Linked DNA regions of Homo sapiens: regions 2 and 3 are each linked to region 1. The links are contacts of gene promoters, found by promoter capture Hi-C in blood cells and fetal thymus (Javierre and others, 2016). All regions are on one chromosome and are shown on one strand. Each heading gives the region's core, a stretch centred on a gene start or on the middle of the fragment in contact. The rest is flanking DNA. Distances are from core to core; before and after follow the strand shown.

Region 1 (3,755 bases), core at 729-3,228:
TTTGAAAAGAAATTCAATAAGTTTTACAGAGGAGGAAAATGGAATTCGTGAATAAAAAAGAAAAGAGTCAAGGTACCTAAATAATGTGGTTGTCTTTAAAGATTATAATGGTGTTATTTGGAATCATTTAGGGAAGGCTTTGTTCATTGTCATATCAGCATGAGTTTTCTTTATGCTTCCCAAGATTCCAAAGGTGATCAACAGTCCATCTACACACTCATATATTTAGCCACCTACTCCACATCTTGATCTGGATGTCAATGACAGTGTGAAAAGTGCTCAAAGCTTAATATACAGGGTCACATTTCTCATCTCAAAACAGGACCCTGTTACAGTGAAACATTATACGCCCTTTGTTCATTTGTAAGAATTCTTCCCTCTCTCACCTTTGTTTCTCCTCATTTTAAGTCTTCTACCTTTTCAGACTTGTTCTTTTTTCTTTTCTTTTCTTTTTTCTGCAGGGGCCTGTAAATGGAATTCCTGCATTGCTCTAACCATGTACAACCTTGGACTTAGCTTTTACCTGTAACTGGCTTCTGAGAGACAAAGAGGAGAAACGTTCACTCCTAGTACACCTATTACAGCTGCAGAGGTAGAGGAGACAGTTGCAGAACTAGTTACAATGACGATAAGAAACAATACTTTGTTATTCCATAGCACCTTTAATGTTCATGTGTATTATCTCAGCTAGCCTTGAACTGCCTAAGTAAGGTGATGAGGACGGGTTTAAGCCCCACTGATATTTTAAAAGCCCAGAGAAAAGTGTTCGTTCCTCTACTAACCTGTTCTTTTAGAGCAGGGATCTGCATACTAGGCCTGCAGCCAAAATGAGTAGGTAGCCCACTACCTATTTTTGTATAGCCAGAGGGCTAAGAATGGTTTTTACATTTTAAGTGGTTTTACATTTAAGATCAAAAGAAGGATAATATTTCATGACAAGTAAAAATTATATGAACTCAAAATTGTATGAATTTTATGAATTTATATTTCAGTATTCATAATTAAAGTTTTATTGAACTACAGCCACATTCATTTATTTACATGTTATCTATGGCTGCTTTCTTGCTACAAAGGCAAACTGGAGAATGTACATGGCCTGCAAAGTCAAAGTATTTACTATCTGGTCCTTCACAGACAAAGTTTTCCAACCTTATTTTAGAGACACCACTGTCTTTCCTTTCTCAAAACCAGGCAATGAGCCTTCTGGTGTTTAGAGAATAGAAACTGCAGCTATGCCTGTACCACTAGTTAATAATCCTAGTAATCAACTAGATCCCCTCACTGGCTTGTGCCAGCTCCTCATTCTTCTGGAAAAACTCTCCAACGCCTGCCCACTGTGTTCCAACACCATACAAACTCTTAACCAATTATCTCCCCACTAGAGTGTGCCTTCTCTTCAGGCAGGAATAAAGACGTATGGCTGCCCGTCCCCACTCCCGCACTCCTTTTCTCGCAATTCTAACTGACAAACAGCAGGCAACTTATCTATGGAACAAACGATTCTGTAGTGCTTAGAATGTGACAGGCTCATTTAATTCTCATTTCAGCCCGATAAGGCTGGCACTATTATCATCACCATCCTCATTTTATAGAGGAGGAACCAGAGGCACAGAGAGACTGAGCCACCTGTCCCAGGTCATGTCAAGTGGTGCCTCCCAGCGGTGGAGGCAGCACTGGAATCCGTGCCGCCAAGCTCCGCCGGCTGGGTGACAGGGAGACTACAGTTAAAAACAGATTTCCCACAAGACCGACCGGAGCGCCGATCAGAGCACCTGCCCGGGCCACACATTTCCTCCTGGAGCACAGCAAGTGCCGCCTAAATTACCCGAGTGAGCATCTCTTCCCGGCACGAGAGGCAGGGAGGCCAAAGGGCCGCCAAGCTGGCCTGGGAGAGGCGTAGGGCGGAGCGAGAGTGGAGTGACATTCCCGAGGGCGGAGCCCCAGGGCCTCCGAGACCCGTAGACTCCCGCCTCCCGCCTCCTCTAGGCCGCCGGCCGCGAAGCGCTGAGTCACGGTGAGGCTACTGGACCCACACTCTCTTAACCTGCCCTCCCTGCACTCGCTCCCGGCGGCTCTTCGCGTCACCCCCGCCGCTAAGGCTCCAGGTGCCGCTACCGCAGCGTGAGTACCTGGGGCTCCTGCAGGGGTCCACTAGGTGAGGGAATGCTGGCGGTCAGTTTGCAAAATCCTGCCTTCCCCAGCTCACTTTAGACTCCTAGGGGAGATAACAAGAGATACTTAAATTGTACTACGAAATTTGGTGAAAATGGTAGACGGCTTTTCTTTCTGCAAAGCACTGAGATCTAAGTACCTCATCAGTTGTTCACATGCATACAATTTAATCGTAGGAGTCTGGAAGGACCCAGACATAATCTAGATGGGGATAAAGATACTTTCTGGTTGCTTCGATGTAGGTGATGACCGGCCTGTACTGCTTTGAGTATTAAGCTCGTTTCTGCGCCTTGCAACCTATCACCCAATAAATATTTATCGATTACTATTCAGGGAGGATACATTTTAGGGTAGGCCTTGACTAAGTGGAGGGTATTGTGGAGTAGAGCCCTTCTGAATAACAGCAGCTAACATTCTCATAGCACTAACTGCACCCCTTTGAGGTAGGCGGTCTTATCATTCCATTTTACAGATAAAACTGAGCCACAGAAAACCTCAGGTCACACAGCTGATATGTGGTGAAGCTGAGATGCAAACCTAGGCTGTCTGGTTCCAGAGTCTGCTTTTTGCCAAAGCACCTCTCTTCGTTTCAGTAGGAATCTTTGAAGGAATTGGGTATATTTCACTTGAAGAAAAGATTTAAGGGATTGGGGGTACTGTCTGCAAACACTTGAAGTGGAATAGGGATAGATTATATTCCTTCTGGGATAGTCCATTAGAACCTAGACCTCCCAAAGAGGAAAAGACTTTCGAATAACAAACTCTGGCTATAGGTAAGTCCTGAAATATGAGATACATTGCCAAGAACAGCTGGTCCATGACTTGCCTATGCTCTAGGAGACTTCATGAGTAAGCTGAAAGATTTCTTGCCCAAAATGTTGGCCCTGAACTTCAGGAATAGATGGGTCTTTGAATTCAATGACCCTCGAAGATCTCTTTTAATGCCAAGATCTTCAGCATGTTCTGGTAAGAGTTAGGGACCTCTTTGTTTTTCTCCATTTTCTCTAAGGCGCCACACAAACCTGCCCCCATCTGTCAGCCTCATTGGTAGCAACTACCTCATGGGTGCTACCAGTGAGGCTGACAGATGAGTGGCACTGGGGAAGGGGTGGGAGATCGAGAGAATTCAGTGAAGTAAGAAAGACAAAGTGTTCATTGGAGATTTTTAGTAAGGGGCCAACAGAGCTGCTAAAGTCATGCTTCACTTAACGATGGGGATATGTTCGGAGAAATGCATTGTTAGGTGATTTTGTCGTTGTGCAAGCATCTTAGAGTACACTTAGACAAACCTAGCTGGTATAACCTAGGTGTGTAGTAGGATATATGGTATAGCCTATTGTTCCTAGGCTACAAACCCATACAGCATGTTCCTGTACTGAATACTGAGGCAACTGCAACACCGTGGTGAGTATTTGTGTATCTAAACATACCTAAACATAGAAAAGATACAGTAAAAATATGGCATTATAGTCTTATGGGACTACTGTCATACATACAGTCCATATATTGTTGACTGTGTAATGTTGACCTGAATGTCATTATGTGGCAGGCACATGACTGTATCGCTAACCTTCGCACAAGAT
Region 2 (3,755 bases), core at 1,192-3,691, 190 kb after region 1:
GGTAAGCCATCATGTCTTTCTTCCACAACTAGGCAATCATCTGGCTTTCTTGCTACTTTGAATTTAAACCACTGGGTGCACTGCTCTCTCTCTCTCTTTTTCTTTCTCTCTCTCTCTCTGTCTCTCTCTCTCTGTCTGTGTGTGCATGTGTATGTATTTTTCATTTATTTGTTTTTTGATTTCTCCTTTATGAGTTGTGTTACTTCTTAAAAAGTAGAGGTAAATGGAAATCAGCACTGCCAGCAATGATCAAATGAACTTTGTACCTGATTTTATCACTTGCTTATTTATTTTTAAGTACTTTAAATTGGATGTGATTTGATTATTTTTAATAGGTAATATATTCACATAGTTCAAAAATTACAATTATTTAAAAAGGTGGACTGGCCGGATGTGGTGGCTCACGCCTGTAATCCTAGCACTTTAGGAGGCCAAGGTGGGTGGATCACCTGAGGTCAGGAGTTCGAGACCAGCCTGGGCAACATGGTGAAACCCCATCTGTACTAAAAGTACAAAAATTAGCCAGGCGTGGTGGTGGGCGCCTATAATCCCAGCTACTTGGGAGGCTGAGGCAGGAAAATCGTTTGAACCTGGCGGGGTGGAGGTTGCAGTGAACCGAGATCGCGTCACTTCACTCCAGCCTGGGTGAAAGAGTGAAACTCTGTCTCAATAAAATAAATAAATAAATAAAATTAAAAAGGTGCACAATGAAACGTCTTGCACCCACCTCTTCTCTCTCAGTCTCCCACCCACCTCTTCTCTCTCAGTCTCCCACCTCAATACTTTCATTGGTATATTTTTAATAGGCTTTTTAAATTTTTGTATAATTTTAAAGAAGAGTTGAAAAGGATACAGACAGTTCCCATATACACTGTACCCTTCACCCAACTTCCTTTAATATTGACATCTTACATAGCTATGGTACATTAGTCAAAAATACGAAGTTAACATTGATACAATACCACTGACTAAACTGCACACTATTGTGATTTCACCAGTTTTTCCTCTCATGTCCTATTTCTGTTCCAGGATCCCACATTGCACTAACTATACTTAATAAGCATATTAGCTTCAATAATATGGTTAAATGTGTAAGGGGGCATTCTTTATACAAAAGTTCAACTTTTTCTTTTACACCCCTACTTCTTTACTCTTATACACTGTTAAAAAATGTATTTGTCTACTTTTATAAACTTTATTTTACATTTAGATAATATGATCGATGTGAGTAAAACATTAAACCGATATGAGTAAAACATTAAGCTAATGTGAGTAAATGTGAGTAAAACATTAAACCAAGATTCAGGAGCTCTTGGTTACACTGCTGGCTGTCACTGACAACCAGTCTTAAAAAGTATTTGAACATTCTACTCCTCCATTTTCTCATGCACAATTGAGGTGATCCACTCTAGATGATCTTTCAGGCCTTTCCAGCATCACATTTCTACAATTTCAGGGATTCTGAGATTTTGCACCGTAACAGTTTTTTCTAGCACACTTCTGCCACCTTGTGGACTAGTCTGTTTTTTCTTATTTTCTCAAAAGGAAAAGAAAAATGAAAAGACTTTTTCTAACTCTTATTAGATGCCCAGTTTGAAATATGTAGCACAGATCTAGAGTAATGATGTCATATTCAGGACATGAAAATAGACAGAATTCAGGAGTCAAAAAGAGGCCTTATGATGAAGGGACAATTCTGGGAAATCACAGCTGCTGGCCACAGCAAGGATGCAGCCAGAGATCTGGCAGGAGATGGTGGCCGTGTAAGTAGGAGTTCGGGGTTCAGGGTCATGGCATTGGGTTTTGGAAGCTTTCAGTTGGTCAGTTACAAGGCATAGGATCAAAAGCAGGACTCGGCTGGGAAGGACAGACCAGGGACCTAATTCCTTTTATAAATCAAAAATAAAATTCTAAGCACCCCCTCTCCAACCATCTGAATGTACCCCTCCTCTCAGCCAGGGCATTCCAAAACTAACCTGAAAAACTGGTTCAGGCCATGACAGGAAAGGGGGGTTGAACATGCCTCATTATACCCTCCTCCCTTTTGGAACTCAGGAAAAGATGACCAGAATTTAACATCAACACAGACCTTAAGTCTGATAAGAAACATTTACAATCTATTCTCTCTGAAGCCTGCTACCTGGAGGCTTCATCCACATGATAAAACTTTTGTCTCCACAACCCCTTATTGTAACCCAGACAGACATTTCTATTGATAATAACTCTTTCAACCAATTGCCAATCAGAAAAATTTTCAATCTGTCTATAATCTGGAGCCCCAGGCCCCCACTTTGAGTTGTCCAACCTTCCCAGGCCAAACAAATGTACATTTTACATGTATTTGATTGATGTCTCATGTTTCCCTAAAATGTATAAAACTAGGCTGTGCCCTGACTACCCTGGGCACATGTTCTCTGGATCTCCTGAGAGCTTGTCACAGGCCATTGGTCACTTATATTTGGCTCAGAATAAATCTCTTCAAATATTTTATAGTTTGACTGTTTTTGTCAACACTTTTGCAGATAGAACGTGATCATCAGAGGGAGGGAAATGGTAAGAGCCAAGTTGTTAAAATCAGGTTATGAAGTCAGAGTTGTCCAGCAGCTAGGCTGACCTTGTCATCTGTCACATGGAGTCCAGGACAAGGAAGGGGACACATGGTAGTATGGGGAGGGAGAATGTGTTAGGACAGGGTGGAGGCACTCATACCTGGGTGAGGAGATGAAGGTTAGGAGAAGTCCGCTGGCCCCGGACTCTAGGACTTCAGAGACCTCTGCACACAGTGGAGTCATGGCTGAAGCAGTGCTGCTACTCCACAGCACATGAATCCTAGGAGCACAGTCTACTTACTCTTAAGCCTGGGAGTTATTGTTTTGTTTCAGATCCAGCTCGACCTCCTGAACTTGTCTGCACTCCATCATCTATACCTCATACCTACTGTTATTCACAGCCACAGCAGGCCCATGCCAGCCTGTTCCTAGACTCATAGTGACATCTCTGTGGCTCTCCTTGCTTTGGTCTTACATCCCTACTCCTGCAATCAACCCTCCATGCTGCTACCAGTAAGCTTCTAAAAAGGCTAATCTATTAGCTCCAGACCCTCCGCAGCCTAGCAGACTTCATAGGTGCTCCATTTCCTCTAAGACATGCCCTCCTTGTTTGGAAATCAAGGCCTTTCATGACCTAGCTCCAGCTTACTGTCCTCCTTTGTCTCCTCCCATCTCCTGCTTCTACTTTCTGTGGGTTCTTTCTGTTCCAGAAATCCGACTGTGGCCCTGCCACAGGAAGCAACAGGAAGCAACAGGAAATAACTTCCTGTTGCTTCCTGAATTTGCAGTTTCTATTCTCTCCTAATGGCATACTCTTTCTTGGTCTTCACAGCTTGAAACATTTTATGCTTCAAGTCTTAGCTAAATACTACCTCATTTGCAAGGTTTTTCTTACTCCCCAAGCCAGATTCAAGGATATCCTATGCTCCCAAACTAATTTTGGACATGCTTCCAGTATAGCAATATTCTTGCTCTTTTGTCTTTCATTTCTGCCTCCCCAGTAGGCTCTGGGAGAAGAGAGACCCATGTCATAAGTTTTGAAGACCCAGGTCCTAGTACATTACCTGCTCCAGAATGCAGAATTAACATTCTTTTGGATAAATGAATGTGAGGCTGTCATGCTGTCTTTAGGCTCCCCTGATCGTAACTTCTACTTCTCTCTCTATGGTACTAATATTACACCCACAGACTGTGAAAATGTCAGAA
Region 3 (3,755 bases), core at 327-2,826, 150 kb after region 1:
AAAATCCTCAACTTGTTGCAAAATAAAAGTATGTGAGAAACTCCAAGAGCTTTAAGCAAACACAATAAATGCCAGCAATGCATGATGTCCCTGATTACGCCACAGGGCCAGAGAATTATTAATGTGACAGCACACGTCATAAATCTATGACTAAAACAGTGTGGCAGGAGGCCCTTTAGAGATGGAAACAGATTAGGCAGCATGATGATCAGAGTTGAATGAAGATTAAAATACTGTCTGAGAGACTTGATAAAGGAAATTATACAAACATTACGTTTTAATGCCCTTAAGAAAAGCCATAGTTCAGTGAAAATTGTGAGCTTAATAGATTTGGTCAGCAAGAGCTGGACTTTGCCTAATTTAGTCTTAATCCTCAGTGTGAGAACAATGTCTTGCATATATTAGGTACTCAATAAATATTTAATAAATAATAAGTTATTACATTGATTTTGTGGCCAGCCAATGAAATTATCTCTTTAAAAAGTGAAGAGTAATTTTACATAGCTCATGTTTTTCAAACTCAGCTAAATTATATGCATGTCTGAATTATTCAGATGTTGCAACTCTAGAAAGGAATTTAATCTATTCTCAAAATATTTATGAAATGAAAAGGAGCAAAAAAATTCTGTTATTTGACCCTTATTAATGGCTTCATGAAAGAAAGTCTGCCTTTGGTAATTTTATCACTGATATTGTTCTGAAACAGTGGTCAGTAAGCTATGGCCCATAGGCCACTTTCAGCTCACTGCCTGTTGTTTTGGTAAATACTGCTTTATTGGAACACAGTTATGCTCATTTGTTGATGTATTGTCTATGGCTACTTTTATTCTACAACAGCAGAGTTGAGTAGTTGGGGACAGAGACTGTTTGGCTTGCAATGCCTAAAATATTTACTCTTTGGTCCATTACAGAAAAAGTTAGCCAACCGCTTGTGTAAAAATATTTCTTATTTTATCACGTCATCAATGAACATTAAATATAATGAATTAGACTGCTTCTTGAACCCCTATAAGAAATGGCACTTTTACCTGGCCTTGATCGATTGTTGGAATCAACTGGCCTCACCTTATTTGAGTCATTGTGTAGTGTGCAACCCAATGAAGCTAAAAAGTTACAGTGATTTAAATTTCAGGTTTCCACAATTCAAATAAAGTCATGGATACATTTATTGATGGGTTCTAGTTATGTTTGTGGTATAGCTCTAAAATGTTAGTGTTGATGGCGTGGACTCTAAATAGAGATAGTGCATAAACATATTAGTTTTTTTTTTGTTTGTTTGTTTTTTCTCTTTTTTCCAATGCCCTGGGTAAAGTAAATACTCCTAAAGAGTAAGGGGATTTTTTTTTTTTTTTTTGAGACAGAGTCTCACTCTGTCACCCAGGCTGGAGTGCAGTGGCACAATCTTGGCTCACTGCAACCTCTGCCTCCCAAGTTCAAGTGATTCTGCTGCCTCAGCCTCCTGAGTAGCTGAGATTACAGGCTACAGGCACCCGCCACCATGCCTAGCTAATTTTTGTATTTTTTAGTAGAAACGGAGTTTCACTATGTTAGCCAGGATGGTCTCGATCTCCTGACCTTGTGATCCACCCGCCTCGGCCTCCCAAAGTGCTGGGATTACAGGCGTGAGCCACCGCACCCGGACCAGGATTTTTTTTTTTTTTTTAAAGCATAAGCCCGCAAGGACAGGGTAAATGATAAAGTCAACAGAAACAACAATGTTCTGAAAGCTGAAAAGCACGTAGATAAGTTGTAAATGATGTGGCCGACCTGAAAAAAAAAATAATTTAAGCCAACAGTCTGGAAAGATGAGTTCCCAAAAGGCTCAGAAGTGGGTGTCCCAAGCACCTCTAGAAATGGGAGGGATGAGAGGGGTGCTAAAATGAGGTTCATTCCAAAAATCTGTATAAGAAACAGTTTGATCCCAAATCTTCTCCCACATTCCCTGTGGTGGAGTGACTGCTCCTTCCAACCCCAGGCAAAAGATGGGTTATTAGTCGTTTGGCTAAGGTAAAAGAGAGAGCATCCTGAATGGGGGATGCCTGACATCCATGAGGGCAGGGTGCTGAACTAACAAGAGGATTAAGTGAACGCGTACATACTAGGTGCAACCACAATTCAGGCAGTTGGATCTGTACTGGAAAAGTATTTCTCTAGGGGGAATCTTACCAGCCTAAGAGAAAAGACCTAAAAAGGACTGAAATTAGCTGGGGGAGGGACTATCAAATGGAACAGCCCAAAGAGGTCATCAAGCCCCATTCCTGGGCTCAGACCTCAGATCAGCTCCTTTGTCCCTTTCTTTTAAGTATGAGCAAGCAAGCATGAATTCCCAGACCTCCAGGGAAAATTTCTAACATGAAAGACAGAGAGTAAAACACACAGAAAAAGGCAATTTGGAGGAAACAGAAGAAAACTTCAAATCATTAATAGCCAGGGGATGAGGGAAGAAGGTGAGACAGTGCAACTAATAAATAAAATGAAGGTGTTATTAAAAAAGAAAATGTCAGAGGACATAATTGAGCCCTAGGAAACTAAAACTATTATAATAAATTGAAAATTCAATAGAACAAAAAAGGAAGACAGAGTTGAAGAAATTTCCTATGAAGTAGAATAAATAAGAAATTAAAAGTGAAAAGATAAGAAGGTCTAACATCAGAATAACTGAAGTTACAGGAAATGAGAAGAGACACAATAGGAGATGTAATCAACAATTTAAAAATTCAAGAGAATTTCGAAGCACATGAGTTGGCAAGTGAAAAGGCTCTCTGAGTCCCTAGTCCAAAAGGTGAAACTATGCCTATACCAAGGCACAAAATGATGAAATTTCAGGACACGGGAGACTAAGAGATAATGTATAAGTTTCCAGAGTAAAGAAAAATTATGATAACTTCAAACAAAGGGCCAGGAATCCGAATGAAATTAGTTTTCTCAATAGCAACACCAAAAGCTAGCAGGCTAGAGCAATGCTGCTAAACTTCTGAAGGAAAATAATTTCTGGCCTACTATTTGGCACCCAAACTATCAATAAAATTGGAGGGCTGAAAAATAAATTTTCAGACATTAAAGTTCTTAGAAAATCTCCCGATCTCCCATGCAGTCTTCTTTAGGAGGCTACTGGAGGACGGTCTTCAAAAAAGGGTGCTAAAACGAAAAGGAAGACATCACTCAAACAAATCCCAATATCCTGTGATTTTCCTTGTCTCTCTCTTTTTTTTTATTGCCACGAGAAAACATCAGGTCCTCATTGCCTCTAGTCTAGAGCTAGTTTCTTAAGCTATAATGTGCATACTATCATTCCAGATCTTGTTAAATTGCAGATTCAGATTTAGCAGGTCTGGAGAATCTGAGAGTCTGCACTTCTGACCAGCTCCCAGTTGCTGTTGCTGATCTGCAGCCCCTACTTTAAATTGCAAGGAGGCTTCTGGACTACTGGAACAGCCTAACTGGTCTCTTCTCCAGCTGTGCCACTCTTTCACCTTCCTTTTCTCCAGTTCTTGGAACAATTTTCCTAGGACAAAGCTTTGATTGTGGTTTGACATTTCATCTCATATTCTGCATCAAAAAGAAGTAACTGCCTTAGTTACTCTTTTCCACCACACTAACCTTTGTTTCAACAGTGTGTAGCCTAAAGCTTATCAATATGAGTTTTAAAAATGCTAGTAACATCTTCATGTTCAAGGTATCTAATTGATTCTTTTATATCCACTGGTGTTTGTTTAATTTCTGCATGTTTTTATTTCCAAATTCTTATTCTTTTA

The links. Contacts are between HindIII fragments. The CHiCAGO score rates a contact against its expected background, and 5 or more counts as called.
Region 2: a fragment that was not itself captured here is called in contact with the fragment with the promoter of PIR in region 1 in 2 of 17 cell types (M2 macrophages and endothelial precursors); the score reaches 6.2 in M2 macrophages.
Region 3: a fragment that was not itself captured here is called in contact with the fragment with the promoter of PIR in region 1 in 1 of 17 cell types (neutrophils); the score reaches 5.7 in neutrophils.

What each region holds. Positions count from the first base shown.
Region 1 is chrX:15,491,556-15,495,310 of GRCh38, reverse strand. PIR (pirin) reads left to right here and starts at 1,978. Exons shown (of 10, transcript NM_001018109.3): 1 at 1,978-2,121. RefSeq lists enhancers at 1,562-2,065, 2,066-2,568. The HindIII fragment of the contact is 4,696 bases long and covers 288-3,755 here.
Region 2 is chrX:15,297,893-15,301,647 of GRCh38, reverse strand. All of the region lies in intron 2 of ASB11 (ankyrin repeat and SOCS box containing 11), which reads left to right. Among named protein-coding and RNA genes, the nearest start is that of ASB11, 16 kb to the left of the region's middle. RefSeq lists an enhancer at 3,127-3,421. The HindIII fragment of the contact is 1,257 bases long and covers 1,813-3,069 here.
Region 3 is chrX:15,339,530-15,343,284 of GRCh38, reverse strand. No RefSeq gene overlaps it. Among named protein-coding and RNA genes, the nearest start is that of PIGA, 5.9 kb to the right of the region's middle. The HindIII fragment of the contact is 3,884 bases long and covers 1-3,518 here.